7 separate regions of the Homo sapiens genome follow, and all the other regions are linked to region 6. Evidence: promoter capture Hi-C in 16 types of primary human blood cells and fetal thymus (Javierre and others, 2016). All regions are on one chromosome and are shown on one strand. Each heading gives the region's core, a stretch centred on a gene start or on the middle of the fragment in contact. The rest is flanking DNA. Distances are from core to core; before and after follow the strand shown. Region 1 has its middle 59 kb from the start of LINC02397. Region 2 has its middle 190 kb from the start of LINC02404. Region 3 overlaps LOC105369905 (a long non-coding RNA gene). Region 4 overlaps LOC105369905 (a long non-coding RNA gene). Region 5 overlaps LOC105369905 (a long non-coding RNA gene). Region 6 holds the start of BTG1 (BTG anti-proliferation factor 1). Region 7 has its middle 120 kb from the start of LINC02404.

The links. Contacts are between HindIII fragments. The CHiCAGO score rates a contact against its expected background, and 5 or more counts as called.
Region 1: a fragment that was not itself captured here is called in contact with the fragment with the promoter of BTG1 in region 6 in 1 of 17 cell types (M2 macrophages); the score reaches 5.1 in M2 macrophages.
Region 2: a contact is called between a fragment that was not itself captured here and the fragment with the promoter of BTG1 in region 6, in 1 of 17 cell types (naive CD8 T cells). The highest score is 5.2, in naive CD8 T cells.
Region 3: a fragment that was not itself captured here is called in contact with the fragment with the promoter of BTG1 in region 6 in 1 of 17 cell types (activated CD4 T cells); the score reaches 5.1 in activated CD4 T cells.
Region 4: a contact is called between a fragment that was not itself captured here and the fragment with the promoter of BTG1 in region 6, in 11 of 17 cell types (total B cells, naive B cells, non-activated CD4 T cells and 8 more). The highest score is 18.1, in total B cells.
Region 5: a fragment that was not itself captured here is called in contact with the fragment with the promoter of BTG1 in region 6 in 2 of 17 cell types (M0 macrophages and activated CD4 T cells); the score reaches 6.8 in M0 macrophages.
Region 7: a fragment that was not itself captured here is called in contact with the fragment with the promoter of BTG1 in region 6 in 1 of 17 cell types (activated CD4 T cells); the score reaches 5.5 in activated CD4 T cells.

What each region holds. Positions count from the first base shown.
Region 1 is chr12:92,524,254-92,526,953 of GRCh38, reverse strand. No RefSeq gene overlaps it. Among named protein-coding and RNA genes, the nearest start is that of LINC02397, 59 kb to the right of the region's middle. The HindIII fragment of the contact is 1,100 bases long and covers 782-1,881 here.
Region 2 is chr12:91,684,557-91,687,256 of GRCh38, reverse strand. No RefSeq gene overlaps it. Among named protein-coding and RNA genes, the nearest start is that of LINC02404, 190 kb to the left of the region's middle. The HindIII fragment of the contact is 4,269 bases long and covers 1-2,700 here.
Region 3 is chr12:92,626,627-92,629,326 of GRCh38, reverse strand. LOC105369905 (a long non-coding RNA gene) reads right to left here. Exons shown (of 3, transcript XR_945211.3): 2 at 1-8. The region is part of intron 1 of LOC124902983 (a long non-coding RNA gene); the gene reads left to right. Among named protein-coding and RNA genes, the nearest start is that of PLEKHG7, 75 kb to the left of the region's middle. The HindIII fragment of the contact is 2,759 bases long and covers 1-2,700 here.
Region 4 is chr12:92,579,779-92,582,478 of GRCh38, reverse strand. The region is part of intron 1 of LOC105369905 (a long non-coding RNA gene); the gene reads right to left. Among named protein-coding and RNA genes, the nearest start is that of LINC02397, 110 kb to the right of the region's middle. The HindIII fragment of the contact is 3,147 bases long and covers 1-2,700 here.
Region 5 is chr12:92,601,549-92,604,248 of GRCh38, reverse strand. All of the region lies in intron 1 of LOC105369905 (a long non-coding RNA gene), which reads right to left. The region is part of intron 1 of LOC124902983 (a long non-coding RNA gene); the gene reads left to right. Among named protein-coding and RNA genes, the nearest start is that of PLEKHG7, 100 kb to the left of the region's middle. The HindIII fragment of the contact is 4,997 bases long and covers 1-2,700 here.
Region 6 is chr12:92,144,517-92,147,216 of GRCh38, reverse strand. BTG1 (BTG anti-proliferation factor 1) reads left to right here and starts at 1,371. Exons shown (of 2, transcript NM_001731.3): 1 at 1,371-1,829. The coding sequence starts at 1,682. BTG1-DT (BTG1 divergent transcript) reads right to left here and starts at 1,132. Exons shown (of 3, transcript NR_135036.1): 1 at 974-1,132; 2 at 455-555. RefSeq lists enhancers at 720-1,019, 1,854-2,390, 2,350-2,399, 2,660-2,700 and a silencer at 1,610-1,929. The HindIII fragment of the contact is 11,880 bases long and covers 313-2,700 here.
Region 7 is chr12:91,758,247-91,760,946 of GRCh38, reverse strand. No RefSeq gene overlaps it. Among named protein-coding and RNA genes, the nearest start is that of LINC02404, 120 kb to the left of the region's middle. The HindIII fragment of the contact is 536 bases long and covers 1,076-1,611 here.

The DNA.
Region 1 (2,700 bases), core at 82-2,581, 380 kb before region 6:
TTTTGACATGAGGTTAGATGTGGAATTTTCTACTTGTGGCATCATGTTGACCCTCAAACAGCTTCAGATTTTGGAGCATTTCAGATTTCGAATTTTCAGATTAGGGATGCTCAACCTGAACTCAGCTTTCTGTTAGAAAGCGCAGCCAGCAAAGAGCTGCAGATCATCCAGGCATACTTGGTACTGGTCAGGCCCTTAGTAGAGTAATGTGATCAATATGGGAATCCACCCTTTAAAATGCACATGCAGAAATTAAAGTGGGTTTCCTAGGGAGCACTACAAAAATAATTATGAAGAAAATCAAACCAGTGGGGGAAAATTAAGGAGATTATATTTATTTAGTCTAGAGAGGAAAAAGCTAAATCATGAATAAATAAATAGTTACCTTTAAGTATATATGTATGTGAAAAAAGATTATCCTAAGGAAAGCTAAATTATTCTATCTCTATGATAGACAATAAACTAAGAGGGATATGGTTAAATTGCACTAAGAGACTCTAATTAACTTTAGGTCTTGCAAAACTCCAGGGAAGACTAACAAAGAAACAAAGGAATCCCTGTCTTTGTATATCTTTCTGAGCAATTTAGACAACTGCCTATCTTGTGGCTTCATTATAGAATAGCAGGTGGCTGGGCCCTTGATTACAATTATAGGTTTACAGAATCTTAGAGCTGAAAAATAGCCTCAGTAGATTAAAGTTTCTCTTTTATATGTTTGTAGATTTCCATTGCCACCCACTCACCAATAGCATATACAAAGGAAAGTATAAGATGTGAAGCTTTGCAGGTTAGAGTTCTATCATAGTTAAGTGACTGGAGCTTTTAAAAGTGTCTGCTCAAATAATGCGAACAGATCTTGGTTGTATGGCATGAAAAAACAAACTAGGGCAGTAAACTAGGGCAGAACAGTGTAGTATTGTTGTTCTTCAGTTGCTTTTTTCAGGTTACAGATGAAAACTAGTCTTTTATCCCAAGAAAAATGTGTATGAGTACGTGCAACCATTCACGATACCCAGATGCCCAAATTTAGTGATCAAGGTGGAGTCAGTGTGGTAGAGTTCTTAAGAGCTCTGCAGTTGGATTTCTTATATTTATATCTACACTGAAATCCTCCCTTTTCTACTTACTAGCCTGTGGTCTTAAGAATGTTAGTTAAATTCTCCAAGTCTGTTTACTCATTTCTAAAATGGGGATAGCTTATCTTATGCATGAGATTTTTCTTGGTGAAAATCAAGTGACAAGATAAAAATTTAAAGAAATTAAGAAGTAAATGACCTGACATAGCAGAGGCTACACAAAAGTGTTTTTCCAATTGCAAGTTGTGATCCAGTGCAGGAGTTTGGTAGTAAAAATTGATCCAATAGGTCATAATTGATGTTAAAAACTGAAATAGAATAGAAAATATTCATTGCACTTAGTAATCATAAATATTGCTTGGGATAATGTTTTCTGTATGATATGTTTGTTTGTATGAGAGAGTTGTGTAACACTTGTGTACTTGGAAGCAATATAAAATATTTCTGGCTGGGCATAATGGGTCATGTGTATAATGCCAACATTTTGGGAGGCCAAGGCGGGAGAGTTGCTTGAGGCCAGGAGTTCAAGACCAGCCTGGGCAGTGTAATGAGACCCTGTCCCTACAGAACAATTAAAAATCAGCTGAGCAAGCACGATGGCTTATGCCTCCAGTGCCAGCTACTAGGAGAGGTTGTGGCGGGAGGATTTCTTGAGCCCTGGAGTCCAAGGCTACAGTGATCTATGATCACATCACCTAAGTCCAGCCTGGGTGACAGAGCAAGACTCTGTCTCCAATCAATCAATCAAACAATAACTAACTAAATAAATAAAATATTTCTTGAGGATCATGGTAAAAAAAAAGCTTATAGTTATTACAGTTTATTATTTTCGTGTTTTTTGTCCTAACCCTTTGTTTTATTTCCCTAGTGGTTGCTGTAGGATCATAATATACATTCCACCCCTCCACTGTCTAGTCTGAAGTAACATAACACTACCTCACAAAAAAGGCAACAATCCTACAATATGCCTCCAACCATCTTCTCTGGCCTTGGGTGCCATGATCTGCATACATTTTACTTCTGCATACATTTTCCTGTTTCTACCAAATTTTGTCATCACTTTTGCTTTTAGCAGTTCACTTGCACCAAATAAGTTGAGAAAAAAGAAAAAGAAAACATTCACATTTACGATCTCCGGTGTCATCAGTGTTTCTTCTAGATCTGATCCTTTATCTTCCACCATCTTTGCACAATCTAAAGTCCCCGTTTAACATCCTCTGTAGTATGGGTCTTCTGGCAATAAACTATCTCAGCCTTGATAATCAGAGAACATCTCTGTCTCATCCCCACAAATAAAGGGCAGCTTTTCTGGTTATAAAACTCCAGATTGACAATTTCCCTTCTTCAGCACGTCAAAGCTGTTGCTCCATTGCAGTCTGGCTTACTTTGCTTTTGATGAAAAGTCAGTGAACCTCCCCATGGTTGTTCCCTCTATGTAACATCACCTGTTCTCTCGTTGAACCTAAGATTTTATCTTTATACTGGGTTTTCAGCAGTTTGACCATAGTGTGCTTCATTGTTGTTTGGCTTTTGTTCATTCTGCTTGATTTTTATTGAGGTTTTTTCATCCTGGGGTGGCTATTTCTAATCAAATTGAAAGTTGCTCAGCCATTACCTCTTCAAA
Region 2 (2,700 bases), core at 51-2,550, 460 kb after region 6:
TGTGTACACTACTGGCCAGACACTCACTCAGGAGCCATCTCATTATCAGATTGACAAATCACAACAAGAAGAAGGGTAAGTACAGTAGAATAAGGTATTTGAGAGAGAGAGACAGACAAACCACATTCATATAACCTTTATTACATTATATTGTTATAATTGTTCTATGTTATTAGTTACTGTTAATATCTTATTGTGCCTAACTCATAAGTTAAAATTTATCCTAGGTATGTATGTATAGAAAAAAAATAGTACATAGAATATATTGGGTTTGGTATCCACTGGGGGTCTTGGAACATTACCCTGTGGATAATTGGAGACTACTATAATCCAAAATACTGTTTTCTCTTGTTTTAACTTTTTTTCTTACCTCTCAGATTGTTGCATTTCAGTTTACTCCAGGGACTCTGTCTCCTATGCTTGCCTGGTTAGAGGTGAGGGGAGGCATATGTTTTGAGTCAAACAGCACATGGCTCCGTAACACTGGCTCCTCTCCTCTGCCTTCTGTGTTGTCTAGTATACTCCCTCTGTTCCCATTTTCCCTGCAATTCTGTAGCCAGGCTTGGAGATAGAAAGTGCTTAACTTATTACTTGGTGTATGCATAGTAAGTGCTTAATTAAAATCTGCTCATTATGGATGGATTTAAGTGATCTAACATACATATTTTAAATTTTTCTATAATTTGATTTTGCCATTAATTCTCAATAATGCTTCCCCATCTTTAAAACAATTCAATTTATTCAAATTGCAACTATCCATTAGTTATCCTATGTTGCTTCTTTCTTCTTTCTTCTATATTAAATTGGATTTGGATCAATAGCTCTTTATATATTTCATCAGAGTTCCAGTAAAGCCTTTTGATAATTTCTTATTTAATTAAAACATTAATATAATTATATAGAGGAGTTATACATAGATTAATATTGTAAAGTTAAAGATACTGCTGAGATGAGATGAAATGGACTCACATATTTGCTTTGGTTGGGCATTTAGTTAGTCTAAAAGGCACATTAGCAATAGAAATCACCATGTGGAGCGTTTGTAGATTTAGTTTTCATGTCAGAGACAGGATCTACCTTGAAAGCATTTGAAAAGATTGCTAAGGAGACCAAACAACAATGTCCCATGCCCTCTGACTCATGTAAAGTGATGATGAATACATAAAAGGAAACACATATACACACGCACACACACACACACAGAGAGAGAGAGAGAAGAGAGAGAGAAATAAGGTTTAGTAGAAAAATATAAAAGACTTAGATTCAAATTATACCTGCAGCACTGATAGCTCTCTGATAACTCACTTAACCTCTTTAAATGGGACCCTATAGGTTGGGAAGAATTTCACCTACCTATCTGTTTTTTAGTGCTGGAAAGTCATTTGTGATTAGTAACTTTTCTACATATGTAAAGGATTATTTAGATTACCATGCACCCAATAAATATGCATTATCTATGGCTAAATTGAAGTGAACCTCACAGGAAGCTCAATAGTCTTACCTAAAAGACAGTACCCTCAGGGAACATGCAGGTCAATCCTATGCTGCCTGAACAAAATTATTCTTACAATATTAACTATTACTTTATCTTTCCAAGTTTTACTTTGTTCATCTGTAAAAGTGGGACGTTAAGAGTAGGTACCTACCTCAAGGAAGAGTTGTAAGGATTAATTGAGACCATACAGGCAATACCTCAGAGATATTGGAAGTTGGATTCCAGAGCACCACAATAAAGCAAACGTCTCAATAAAGTGAGCCACACAAATGTTTTGTTTCCCCAGTGCATATAAAAGTTATGTATATTATGTCTTAAAAAGTGGTCATACCTTAAAAATATTTTATTGCTAAAAAATGCTGCGTCCTGAGAATTTTGTGTGTATGTATATACATATATAAAAAAACGGTGGTGATATATCATGGTGTATATATGTATGTGTGTGTGTGTGTGTGTGTGTGTGTGTGTGTGTGTGTATATATATATATATATATATATATATATATATATATATATATGGTAGCAAAGATATGGAATCAACCCAAGAGCCCATCAATGACAGATTGGATAAAGACATGAGAGATCTATCATATATATCATTATATACATTATATATATTATATATCACATTATATATATTATATATCACATTATATATCATTATATGCATTATATATAATATATTATATATATTACATAGCACATGATATATATTATATATATCTCACACATTTTCTTTATCCAATCTCCATATCTTTGCTATTTTAAATAATGCAGCAATGAACATACAAGTGCATGCGCCTTTTTGGTAGAATAATTTGTTTTCTTTTGGGGATATACCCAGTAATGGAATTGCTGGGTCAAATGGTAGCTCTGTCAAAAGTTCTTTCAGAAATCTCCAGACTGCTTTTCACAGTGACTGAACTAATTTGCACTCCCACAACAGGGTATAAGCATTCCCTTTTATCCACAACCTCACCAGCATCTATTGTTTTTTGACTTTTAATAATGGCCATTCTGACTGCTGTGAGATGTATCTCATTGCGGTTTTGATTTACATTTCTCTGATGATTAGTGATGCTGAGTATTATTTCATGTTTTTTGGCCACTTATATGACTTCTTTAGAGAAATGTCTATTCATGTCCTTTGCCCATTTTTAAAAGGGTTGTTTTTTGCTTGTTGATTAAGTTCCTTATAAATCCTG
Region 3 (2,700 bases), core at 130-2,629, 480 kb before region 6:
TCAATTACCTGCAATCAACCAGAGTCCTAAAATAAGTGAGTATAGTAGAATAAAATATTTTGAGAGAAGAGAAAGAGACCACATTCACGTAACTTTTGTTAGAGTATATTGCTCTATTTTATTATTAGTTGTTATTGTTAATCTCTTACTGTACCTAATTTGTAAATTAACTTCATCACAGGTATGTATGTACAGAAAAAAAAAACCTAGTATATATAGGGTTCACTACTATTTGTGGTTTTAGACTCCACTGGGGGTCTTGGTACGTATCCCCTGTGAGTAACAGGGGACTACTCTATTTGAAAAACTCTTGTAGATGTATGAGCATGTGTATATTCTAAGGACTCAGAGAGAAGGGAGGCCCAATCTACTATTTTACCAAACAAAAGAGGGAAGAAATAATTGAATTTATTTCTGTTTATTAATAATTTTCTTCCTGAATTTTACTTTTTATATTTTTTAAATTTATTTTTACCTAAAGCAATCAAATCAGGAATGGTTTTGTAACCTCTAATCTTTTCACCTAATATGTAATGTGTATATAGAATTTAAAAGTATAGAGTATGTCACTTAAAAAAAATCCTTACTTTTGCAAATTAATGAGGCATTGCACCAGTGATTCATGCAAGTAAAAACAAAACAGGGAGTTGTGGGATTCATGGTCAAGAGTCAGGAATGATTTAGCCGTTGAATATATATTGGGGTTTCCCAGCTTTGCTACCTTTATACTGAGAAACTGAGCTTCCACTTAGCTGAACCTAATCACTGCTAGAGATTTTTCTTTCTATAAAATTCTCTAAATGCTTATTTGGTCTCTTGTGCCAAATTTCTGAATTAAAAAGCGTAGTAACTTCACTTATAACGTCTATGATTTCTGAGCAAATTATTCTTGTCTTTCTAACTCATTCAATGCAGATTTGTCCATCTGAGAAGGTCATGAGAAATGCGTACCTTCTTTAGAAGTCACCTTAGATATAGTGGTTTCTGTGACAAAGTCTCAGAGAGACAAAGTATATTGCCCAGTGGTTACCAGCACTGTCAACAGGTGGACATGTTTATTTGTACAGTAATTTTCTTTATATATACTTTTTTTCCCCGAAAGAAAGCATTCTGTTAGCACACCAGATCTAAATGTGGATACTCTGTATGTGTCTCATTATGGTTTTGTGGACAAAGGAACTAAAAACAATGGTAGTTTAATAACAAAGTAGCTTTGTTTCCTCTAGCAGTGTCAGAAATGTAGACTCTTTCTCTCAGGGGAAAAAAAAGGTACTAACTGTGTGGTTCTAATGTACTAGCAAAAATGTGTCTAGTGCGGAACGTTTTAACTGGTAAAAATGGAGTAGATTTATACACAGCAATCCAGGGTGCTTAATGCTGTTAAAAATATTTAGATTTAATAGTCCATAGATATTAAGTTAGAAAGGTTTTAATGACCAATATCCATAGAAGAGAGATATTGGCTTGCATAGTAGACTACTCTGTTTTGAACATGAGGCATTTCCCAGGATTTTGCAAATTTCTATCTTTAGGTGTTCTAGATTGGAGTAGTAACCTCAAAGGTGGCCACGGTAGGCAGCCCTCTGTGGCCTGTGAAATTCTCTTGCACAATCCTGCACTGGGACTGGCAAATCAACATTTCTAGCATTTTGACCATAACATAGCTTTTACAATAGTATCTACCTAGTGTCTGTAGCATGAGTAGTGAAGATAAGCATGCCATCTTCCTTTCATTGAATACTTACTCTGTTAGGTATGACTCGAAGTGCTTCAGCCATGTTATCTCATTTAACTCTCTGAGTTGATATGATTATTATTCCCATTTTACAGACAAGAAACTAAGGTCCAGAAAGTTTAAGTGACAGCTGGTATGTGTTGTGGAGCAGATTCTAATCAGAGGGTCTCTGGCTGTGGGGTCTCTTTTCTAAACTGCCACACATATTGTTCCTCAAAGATCTAATTGATAGTTACCTAAGTTACCTAATTATTAGCAGTACAGAAGGATGGCAGCTGGTGTTTCAGCCCTAGCTCTCCAGCCTATTTCCTAGGTGACCTTGGGCATGTTATTTATTCTTTGGCGTTGGTTTCCTTATCAGTCAAATATGGAGAGTTTAACTAGATGGTTTTTAAGATTCCCTTTGTCATCATATTGGGTGAGTCTGTGATTAATATGACTTATTAATTTGGGTGGTCTCGATAATTTGCGAATAGCAGTGGCTGTTGTGATCCCTTTTACAGACCTACATTTTATAAAGGACAAGGACAGTTGTTTCACAATAGCACAGGGTAACGCAGTATAAGAGCAAGCACCGTGCACTAGTCATCTGGTGACTTTCTGGAAGGAGGTCAGAATATCTAGGTAGTACCAGTTCATCTGGGCTGCTATTAATACAACAAAATGCCATAGACTGGGTGGCTATGGCATAAAAGTTTATGTCTCACAGTTCTGGAGGCTGGGAAGTCCAAGATCAAAGTGCTGGCAGATTTGAGGTCTAGTGAGGGCCCATTTCATGATTCATAAACAGCATCTTCTTGCTGAATCCACATGTGGTGGAAGAGGAGAACTCTGGTCTCTTTACAGTCTGATAAAAGCACTAATCCCATTCATGAGGTCTCCACCCTCATGACTTTATCACCTCCCAATACTATCTACCTCCTAATACTATCACACTAGGGATTGGGTTTCAGCATAGGAATTTT
Region 4 (2,700 bases), core at 141-2,640, 440 kb before region 6:
GGAGAAGAAACACTGCTCATTGCTTAGCTAGGGGAGCAGCGGATGAAGCTGTTGAATTTATAGTAGATCTCAGAGTGGTTCAAATCATAGATCCTGAGTGATTCCTCCTCAGCTACTCCAAGTGGTACCATTTGGGGGCTGTTGGGGAATTAGCAGTTGAATTCCTTGAGAAAGTCCTCCTCCCCTGTATGAACTCCAGATAATGCAAGACTGTTACACAGTTATAACAAAGGAGTTAAGTCCTTGTCCATCTATCAACCAACCAATCCACCAACAAGCATATCTTTAGGACCTGCTTGAATGCAAGGTACTGTGTTGAGTTCCAAAAACACAAAGGGGCATTGGTTACAATCCTTGCTTTAGAGGTGGACAAATTGATTAAGGAAAATCTCTCTCTCTCTCAAGGGTGAGGTTTTGCTTAATGCATTTGGAGGTTGGAGGAGGATTTAAGAAAGGGAGAGATCACTGTGAACTGAAGTGCCTGGAGAAGACTTTCTTTGGGAAAATAAAATTTAAACCTAATGTGAAAGACTAACTGATACATTGAGGTTGTGTGAACCCAGATGGATAAAATCACACAGTCATAAACAGAGCTATTCTTAGATGTACAACAGTTGTTTCAGAAACTAAAACACCCTATGCCTTGAAAAGATCACATTTTTAGCCCACAGAATTCACCATGCCATTTGTGTTTATTTGCTGTATCCTCCAGAGACCTCAGTAAGCTGAGGGAAAAGGGGGAGGGACTAACATGCTGTAGCCACCTACATTGTACGATTTGCTTTACATACATGATCTAATTTAGTTCTTACACAGTCCTGTGAGCCATGCATTATTGCTCCTATTTATAAATGAGGAAATTGAGGCTCAGAGAGGTTAAATGTGTGGCCGGGTCTCATAGTTGTGCAATGGCTGAGCCCTCTGTGTTACTTACATACTGTCTGTCACTCACTTGATTTTTAAAGTTCTTGAGAGTAGAAAATTCAATATCAATGTTGTTTCCCAAAAACAAATATTTTAAATACTGCTTGTTAGATAAGAACATTGTCCGTAATTACAAAAAATTGATTAAAATGACACAAAGAAAAAAACAGTAAAGAGAAATCAAATGAGATAATTGATGTGTGTATCCTTTTGGGACATATCTGTGATAAGATCTGTCACATGGCACAGGAAGAACAAGATCTGTGTGCGTGTGTGGTACTGGGGGTTATAATCTTTTTAATTTCGTGTACCCTGCACATTTTAGATACTTACTAACAGGGTCAATGTCTGATACATTAGGATTTGGTTACAAAATGATGAAGAATATTGAGATTCCTCTCAGGCTCTCAAGGTGACAGATGTTCTATTGCTAAAGTATTGCTTTGGGGAAACCAAAATAGACCCACCGCACCTAAAATAATGTGCCAAAAATATAAGGAAAAAAATAGAAAATGGAGACTCACAGCAAGAGAGAACATTATATTTGAGTGATGGTTTTCAAATTTTCCTCTGTGGGTCATACTCTTGTCTGACCCATCTATTCTTCCGTGGTCCTCATCTTGTAGAGTCCAGGCGTCTTAATGCTCTTGGCCACCCAACCTCTGCTGTCCTGCATGAAAGGAGTCATGGAGGTTCCTACACACCATCTCCTGTAGGTGTGTAGTGGCCACCATTGGGCAGTGGCCTGGAAAGGCAGCAGGCTAGGGAATGTGATGCTGCCACTTGGATAGGCAGTTTTTGGCATACTGTAACTTTGCCTTGTGTCCTTTAGCTATTCTTGGAGATTTTCCAGAAGAATAAACAATCCCTTAAAGTCCCATTCCCTCCATGACTCCTGGCTGGAAACATCACCTAGACCTATATGACCTGCTTTTGCATTTTGGGTTTATACATGGACCAGTTAAAATGAACATCCCTGGGACCTGCCACCAGGGCTAGAAGGCTTTCCCCTTCCACCTGACAAGGTTAAGACAACTGATCGTATAGTCCAAACACTGCCTGCTTGGCTTATAGAGGATGGATTACAATTTTACTTATGGATTTATTCCTATAATCGTTAAATTAAGCGATTGATAAAGAATAATGGAAATTACACAATTAATAGAAATTAAATAGAAATTAAATGATTTCTCTTATTAAATTGTAAGATTCTTTAGGGAAATGTTAGTACCTTTTTTCCCTTACAACTGTACCCTCAGTGTCTATAAACACAGCGCTACCTTGTAGCAGACCTCAATAAATATTTGCTGAATGGTTTCATTTATATATGTGTGTGTGTGTGTTTGTATGTATGTGTGTGTATGCAGGGAAAGTCATTGTAGGAAGAGGGACAAATAAACAGAATGAACAAGTGAACAGAATCATAGGAGTTGGCCAGGTGCAGTGGCTCATGCCTGTAATCCCAGCACTTTGGGAGGCCGAGGCGGACGGATCACGAGGTCAGGAGATCGAGACCATCCTGGCTAACACGGTGAAACCCCGTCTCTACTAAAAATACAAAAAATTAGCCAGATGTGGTGGCACGCGCCTGTAGTCCCAGCTACTCAGGAGGCTGAGGCGGGAGAATCACTTGAACCCGGAAGGTGAATGTTGTAGTGAGCTAAGATCACGCCACTGTACTCCAGCCTGGGCAACAGAGCGAGACTCCATCTCAAAAAAAAAAAAAAAAAAAAATCATAGGTGTGATTTATTTAATCTGAAATTCATCTTAGTAAT
Region 5 (2,700 bases), core at 180-2,679, 460 kb before region 6:
CTCAGATGCTGAATCTACTTCTCATAAGTAAATGTTTCACTCAAATCAAAGAGAGTAGGCACTCCATCTCTGGCTCATGCTTCACTGTACTGAGAGTTTAAACTTCCATGCTGTCCTAGCCTGCTTGGAAAAACCAGAGTGCCCTGAACTTCCAGTGAATCAGCTCCTCTTGGGCCCTGATGTGTCCTCAGGATCTCATTAGATGGAGCCAACTCAGAATCTAAGCAGGTACCTATGAGTTGTCCCTAGTACTGAAAATCCAAATGTTGCTTGGCAGTCCAGTTCATGAAACCTCTAAGAAATGGAAGGTCAGAGGCTGCTGTTTTCCTGTGGAGACATGACTGGTTCAGCAATGGGGGCAGGTCTGGACAGGGTAGTGAGACCCATCAATAGACCATCCATGAGAAGGCCAGTAGGGGGTGCCATGGCTGCCTCCCACTGTTCCTTTCTAAGTTTAGATTTGCAGGGTGTGTGGGTGTGTGAGTCCATGCATGCACACACATTCAATTTATGCTTCTGTCAAAACCCCACATATTCAATAGTAAAAATAACAAAATAATACATATACAAAAATTATAATCAAAAACAATCCCCAGCCTCAGCTTACTCCATTCCATCTCCCTTTGCTCATTGACTCAGAAGTAACTGCACATCTTTCAATTTTTGTTCGAATATGTATTTTTTATTTCTCAGTAATGTGTTTCTACAAATATTTGAGTTTTTAATTTTAGATACTATCTATTGACTGTCTACAAATCTTTCAAATATAGCATATTTAATTAAATCCTTTTTAGTGTTTACCATGGCTCATAGCCGAGCCATCTAGCATACTCATGACATCATCATCTACAATTTTTTTCCCCTGATGTCAATACTGTCTCAGTTTTTTTCCATTGCTTTGCATTCTTTGATAGACATCTAATAATATGTAACATATATTTAGCAAGTATTTTAAGCAATTTATAGGTAAAATATTTTAAGCAATTTATAGGTAAATATAGGAAATTATAGGTAAAAGGTTAGGGAACAGAAGGTGGGACATGTTATGCCCCAGCTTAAAAGGGCAAAGTCCAAATTCCTGGCTATGCTACACAAGATCTAGCCCTTGGCTATTCCTACAACCTGACTCCTTATCTTTTCCTTCTCCATATTTTACATTCCAGCTTCTTGGACTTTTTTAGATGCTAGAATTTATAAGTCCTTTCTTATTCCTTGGCCCTTCACCAGCCTCCTGTTGTCTGAATCACTTTTCTACCCTCTTTATTTGTGTCTTACCCATCCTCTGGTGCCAATCTTCCCCAACTCCTAAAATATGTTCAATTGTCCTGCAATGTGCTCCTGTCACACTGTGTTCTTCTCACTCACCACTCTTTATGTTTATTACTTGCTGGACGATAAATTCAGTGAAGATGAGGTCTAGTTGGTCTTATTCCCTGAGAGAGCCCCAGTGTTTACCACATAATAGGCTCTTTATACATTTTAGTTGTTATATGATTGGGTCTGTAAGGAGAATGACGATGATGCAAATGTACATGAAAACATTCCAGTGACTCAGGCTGAAAAAATCCTATGTAAGGCAATAAATTGTTTTCTCACATGAAGTAATTCCCATTTCTTCTTTATAAATTGCCTAACCTTAAACTGGCTAAGACTTGTAACTATAGAACAATAGACAATGTGGCTTTATATATTGGGCAAACCTGAGTCAAAGAGTCAGTTTTTAGATTTTGCAAATGACCCAGGGCAGCTTTGAAACAGTTGATTAACATCTTGGAGTGTTGGCATGGTGGGCCCTGGTTTCTCTAACCTTCCATCTGCAGTACACACATGGGGACATAATGTGACAAAAGCAGTGGTCCTCTGACCAGAGAAATCAGAGATATCCATGAAGATTCTGCCCTCAGGGAGCTTCCAGTCTAGTAAGGAAAACAGACTATCAGTAGGTAAACACATACATAAGTATGTACTTGTAGATTGGAAAAAATGGTGTCAACTAGAGACCAAATGATGATGGATAATAAAGAGGAAGCCCTACATAAATGGTCAGGGAAGGAGGGAGATATGTTTGGCTCTGTGTCCCTACTCAAATTTTATCTCAAATTGCAATCCCCATGTGTCAAGAGAGGGAACTGGTGGTGAAGCGGCTATGCTGTCTGGGGTATAAACCTGGGGTTCATCATCACGTGCCAGGAAAATTTAGGACATGGACACACACGAGGAGTTTAGGAGTGAAGGTTTAATAGGTAGAAGAGAAGAGAAAGAGAAACAGCTTCCTCTACAGAGGAAGTGGTCTCTGAGCAGAGAGGACCAGCTGGTGGCAAAAGCACCAAGTTTTATAGTCCAGTTTGAGGACGTGGTGTCTGATTTACGTAGGGCTCACAGATTGGTAAGATCAGGTATTTCCTTTACATAGCGTGTGGGGAAGGCTGGTCACCCCACCCTAATCTTCTTATGCAAATGGGCTTTCTAGTTGATCAGCACCATCTTGTCTGCTTGTTATAATACACGTGGCTGACAGAGAAGGGAAGATGGAGCCACCATTTTGAAAATGTCTAGTCCTTAGTTTCTGCCGGCATTCATCCATGCAAGCTCCCAGCTTGCAGGCTGCTCTTTGTTAGAAAATGATTTGGGGCTGCTTTTCATTAACAAAAAAAAAAAAAAGCCTTATCAAGGACTCCCATGCCCTTGCTATCTGCCTAA
Region 6 (2,700 bases), core at 122-2,621:
AAGAAAAAAAAAACACTCAAAGTGGTGTGTTTTGCAATATTGATGATCAACTAAGGTCGGGATATTTATTTCCATCTGGTAGAGTTCAACTTCTGCCTCCTGTTTGCTTTCTCCATCTGCCTGCCTCCCTTCATCTTTCTTTTTTTCTTTTCCCCCTTCTCCTTAATGGAGTTGGGGTTAACCCTGTCTTAGGCCTAATCGTTTTAGCAGGCTCCCGCCTTCCTGTTACACTGGTTTTTAAGGTTGTTTTTTTTTTTTTTTGGTAGGGTTTCAAATAAACTTGAATGTCTACACTTAATACTTTCACAAGCTTCAAATTCTTTTTATTTTATTTTTATAAAGAGCAGGACTCAGGCTAGGACGGCATTTGGACTAGGTAAAAAAGAAAATCTTCAGTTTTGTGCACACAAGTTTTAAAATACATTGTACAGATTTTTTTTTTTTGGATACACACCACTCTTTACAGGATCCGCGTTATATCTGCTTTCAGTAACTGGCTCTCCTGTCCGCATCCAGTAAGGTTTCCACTCTTCTCTCCGTTGACTGCTGAAGTTACTGAAACAGCAACCACAAATGGCCTTACTAACCTACTTATTTTGCAATTAAACTTTTAAAAGATATCCCCCTACTCCTCCCCTAGGGTGGAACAGAAATGGCTCCGCGGCGTTGGCAGCTCGTCTGCGAGGGGACCCTGGCTCCCCGAGGCTGCAGTCCTTTTTCTTGGACAGAACGCCCCGCAGGACCGTTCCCTCCACTTTCCCCCGCACTAAGGCAGCGCACCGCCAGCACACACAGCGCTGGCGCCCGCATCGCGCCGCACCACACGCGTCTCCGGCTTGAGGAGCCAGTCACCGAGACCCGGAGCGGGAACGAGATGTAAACACGGAGTGGGGACATGCAGCCCGATCTGAGAAGGCGGCGTGAAGAGTAGACACAGCCTGCGCCAGGCGGTTCTTATTTACCCAGCACTTACACTCCAGGGCAAGCGGGCCCAGGCAGCGCACTCTTGGAGAAGGATGCACTGGCGCAGAGCCTGGACCTGCTGAAGCGGGAAGGAGGAGCTAGGGCTGGGGGCGGAGCTTTCACACGCGCACCCTCTGTTCCCTCCCTCCCTCCCTCGACACAAGCAACTGGGTCTCCAGCCGCCACTCCGGGTTTATTTGTTTACAAGCGGATTACGTCAGCTCCTCCCTCTCTTCCCTATCTCTGGACCCGCCTCCTGAACTCTTTTCCCGCCCCTTTCGGCTCCGAACCGGCTTGCGTCACAATGGTGCGATATTCGGATTGGCTGGAGTCGGCCATCACGCTCCAGCTACGCCACTTCCTTTTCGTGGCACTATAAAGGGTGCTGCACGGCGCTTGCATCTCTTCGCCTCTCGGAGCTGGAAATGCAGCTATTGAGATCTTCGAATGCTGCGGAGCTGGAGGCGGAGGCAGCTGGGGAGGTCCGAGCGATGTGACCAGGCCGCCATCGCTCGTCTCTTCCTCTCTCCTGCCGCCTCCTGTCTCGAAAATAACTTTTTTAGTCTAAAGAAAGAAAGACAAAAGTAGTCGTCCGCCCCTCACGCCCTCTCTTCCTCTCAGCCTTCCGCCCGGTGAGGAAGCCCGGGGTGGCTGCTCCGCCGTCGGGGCCGCGCCGCCGAGCCCCAGCCGCCCCGGGCCGCCCCCGCACGCCGCCCCCATGCATCCCTTCTACACCCGGGCCGCCACCATGATAGGCGAGATCGCCGCCGCCGTGTCCTTCATCTCCAAGTTTCTCCGCACCAAGGGGCTCACGAGCGAGCGACAGCTGCAGACCTTCAGCCAGAGCCTGCAGGAGCTGCTGGCAGGTGAGCAGGGCGAGGGCGTCGGAGGGACGCGGGCCCCACATCCCTGGGTCAGAGTCCGGCCGTCGGGGCTGCGGGAACCTCGGCAGCGCCCCGGGGCCGGTCGCGCTTGGGCCCCGCCGCGGGACCGGTGTGGTTGCGCTGGGTGGCCGCTAACAGCGGTTCCCCGCGAGGCTTTAGGGGCTGGACGGAGGGCGCCCCCTTCCCCCCAGCTGGCAAAACGGAGAGGAGAAGACAACACGCACAACAAAGAAACTTAAGCCCACCGAGGCGGGAGCTGCGGTCCGAGGACCGTCGGCGGATTTGGGGACAAAGGAGCCGTGGGGCTGGGGTGGGTTCGACGTCCCCTTTCCTCAGCCCCCTCCAACCGTTGCGTGGTCGGCGGCCCAGCCCCGGGGTGGGAAGCTGCGCCGCTGCCCCGGAGCCAGCTCAGAACGGACGTGCCGTCTCCCCGCGCCTCCTGCCCCTGCCCATTAATCATCGGATTTGTCACCGGCACAATTAACAGCCCTGCCCAGAGCGTGGTTTAGGGTTGCTTGTTTTTCTTCCCTTCGGGGTTAACAGTCCGGTGGCGCTTCTCATCTCCAAAGCCATCAACTCCATTGTGTGCATCTGGGGTGGGGTGGAGAAAGTAAACAGTTTCTCGCCTGGCCATAGGTGCCAGTGGCTTCCCGACTGGCCGAGGCTGCGCGCCTGATTCCTGTTTTGGCGGCTCAACCGGTTGGTTCCTGGAGATTGTTTTGTCCGGTACTACTGTGTTATTTCTAAAACCCTGCCCGCTTTTTCCATCCCCGCACATGCACAACAACGGATGCAATCCTGGACATTTTAAAAAGTTGATAGTTTTCATTTTCGCTCCTCAAAGGAGCCTGGG
Region 7 (2,700 bases), core at 94-2,593, 390 kb after region 6:
GGCTCTATCTTCAGGGCTTACTTTACTCCACAGTCTCTGCTCTGCTTCCATGGCAGCTCTATTGGCCTCTGCCTCTGTTTCTGCCCCTCTGACCTCTGAGTTCTTCTTACCATTAAAGTGTAGCACATGTTTGCAGTTGAGTAGCTCTATCAGTCCATTTCCTGACTGTAAAATTTTGGAAGTCTGATAGTCTTCTTTCACTTTGTGAAATCCCTTTTAGTTTAAGTTGGCAGTGTTTCTGCTTATATAATTTTCTCAACAACATTGTCGGTCTCCCACATATACCATAAGGTTTCACACCATTAGACAAGAGGATCCTCTACAGGTCTTTCCTAGATAACTCCATTTCTGTTTCTGGCTTCTGCTGAGATGGTTGAGGGGACCCCAAGAGTCACACACTTAATTTCTTCAGCAAAAATCTTTCAGCCTCGTCTTTTCCTTGTCTTCAGAGCACAGTTTCTCTAACAGTGAATAACATTAGCACGTTTTGGAATCTGAATAGATGTGATTTTTTTGAATCATCAAGTGCTGGTTTCTTTGTGCTTAATGGTCTCTTCTTCAATTTATCTTTTTCTTCTCACATTTTATTCTAAATGGCAACAAGAAATCAGGTCACACCTTCAAAGTTTTGTTTGAAAGTATTTTCAGCTAAATATATAAGCATGTAAGTTGTAAACAATGGCTTACAACTTCTGCTTTCCAAGCAACATTAAGACACAACTTAGACAAGATATGCCACTATATAATAAAGATTACCTTTCCTCCAGTTTTCAACATGTTCATAATTTGTTTCTGAGCACCTGTCTTTAATATTCATGTCTATACCATGAACACTGTGCTCATGGGAATATATGTATTCTCTAAGATAATAACAGTTTTCTCTACTATATTCTTCATTTCCTTTGAGCCTTCTCCAAAATCTAGGCTTTTTCTACCATACCCCTCAAAATTCTTCCAGCCTCTACCCATTGCTCAATTCCAAAGCCACTTCCAGATTGTTAGATACTTGTTTCATTACAGTTGTACTTCCTGGTACCAAAATCATTGCTCTCCTTTTTTTCTGTATATATAAGCTTCTAACTGGGGATTGTTTTTCTTTTGTCTTTTGGTATTTCCTCTAGTGTGGAACTAATGATTAATTATTTTAGCTTTTATTTCTATGAAAGTGTTCTATTTTACCTTTACTTATAAAATATGAATATTTACCAGATACAGAATTCCAGATTGGTGTTTTCCCCCAGTACTTTGAAGATCTCATTCCATTGACTTCTGGTTTTTATTTTATTGATCCTATGGAAGAGTTACATTCCTGGCACTCTCTGCCTGCTTTTAAGATGTTCTCTTTGTCTTTGGTTTTTAGCAGTATGACTATAGTGTGTCTAAATGTGTCATTCCTTATGATTATTTCACTTGAGATTTATATCCCTTCTTGAAATTGTGACTTGATATCTTTTGTTGATTGGGGAAAAATCTTGACCACTACATTTTTCTAAACTTCCTTTGTTCCAATATCTCTCTTTACTCTTTTTTGGGAGTTTAATATGTGTGTTAGATCATTTGACTGTTGCTACAATTTGAATGTTATTGTACCCTCCAAAAATTTATGAAGCTTAGTTTCCAATTTAATAGTATTGAGAGGTATAATCCTTGGAGGTGATTGAGTTTTAAGGCTCTGCCCATGAATGGGATTAGGTGCCCTTATAAAGGAGCTTGATGGAGGGAGTTTGTTCCTTTTGGCCCTTAACCTTCTGCCTTGCAAGGACACAGTGTTCTCCCTTCTGGAGGACACAGTGTTCAAGATGCCATCTTGGAAGCAGATTGGACCCTCACCAGACACCAGATGTTGGCACCTTGATCTTGGACTTACTAGTCTCCAGAACTGTGAGAAATAAATTTCCGGGTAGTTACAAATTACCTAGTCTCTGGTATTTTGTTATAGCAGCTTAAACAGACTAAGAAAATAATATATTCTATATATTTTTTTCTCTTTTCTTCATTTTTAATCTAATCTTTTTGCTTTGGTTTGTGTACTTTTAACACACACATTAAAGTTGTAATTTGGTTACTGTGTTAATCAGTTACAAAATTTCTATTTGCTTTTTAAAAATGGCTTACATTTCTCTGATGAATTTTTTTACCTTGTCTTGTATTTCTTGAACACATATTAACCATAATTATGTAATTCCATGTTTGATAACTACAGTTGTGGATATCTTATGGGTGTGTTTTTACTGCTGGTTTTCTCTCGGTTTGCCACATAAACACACACACAGAAACTAAGTGTGTGGGTGCCCGTGTGTGTGCAGCCAGAAATAATGTTTGAAAAATTATAGTGGCAGATTGAAGTCTTGAATGATGCTATCGTTCTGTAAAAATAATTTGTTTTCTTCATCTGGTAATTTAGCTTGAGAAAGATCAGATTATTCCATTCGAGATTAAGCTGATTCAAATTAGTTTTCAGTATTTGTGAAGACTTGGTCTGTCCAGGTTCACCATTATTCATGGGCATAGTCCTTCAGAGACCCCAACGGAAACCCAGAGTTTTATGCCAGCGTCCTTACTCCTTGGCACATATTAAACTTCAACTGCCATTACCCTAATCTCTTAAGACATTTGAAAGTCCTGCTCAGATTTTTAGATTCTTGTTTATCATATTAGAACTTACAAATTTTTTATGGTGAAAAGCAGAGCTAAATATTA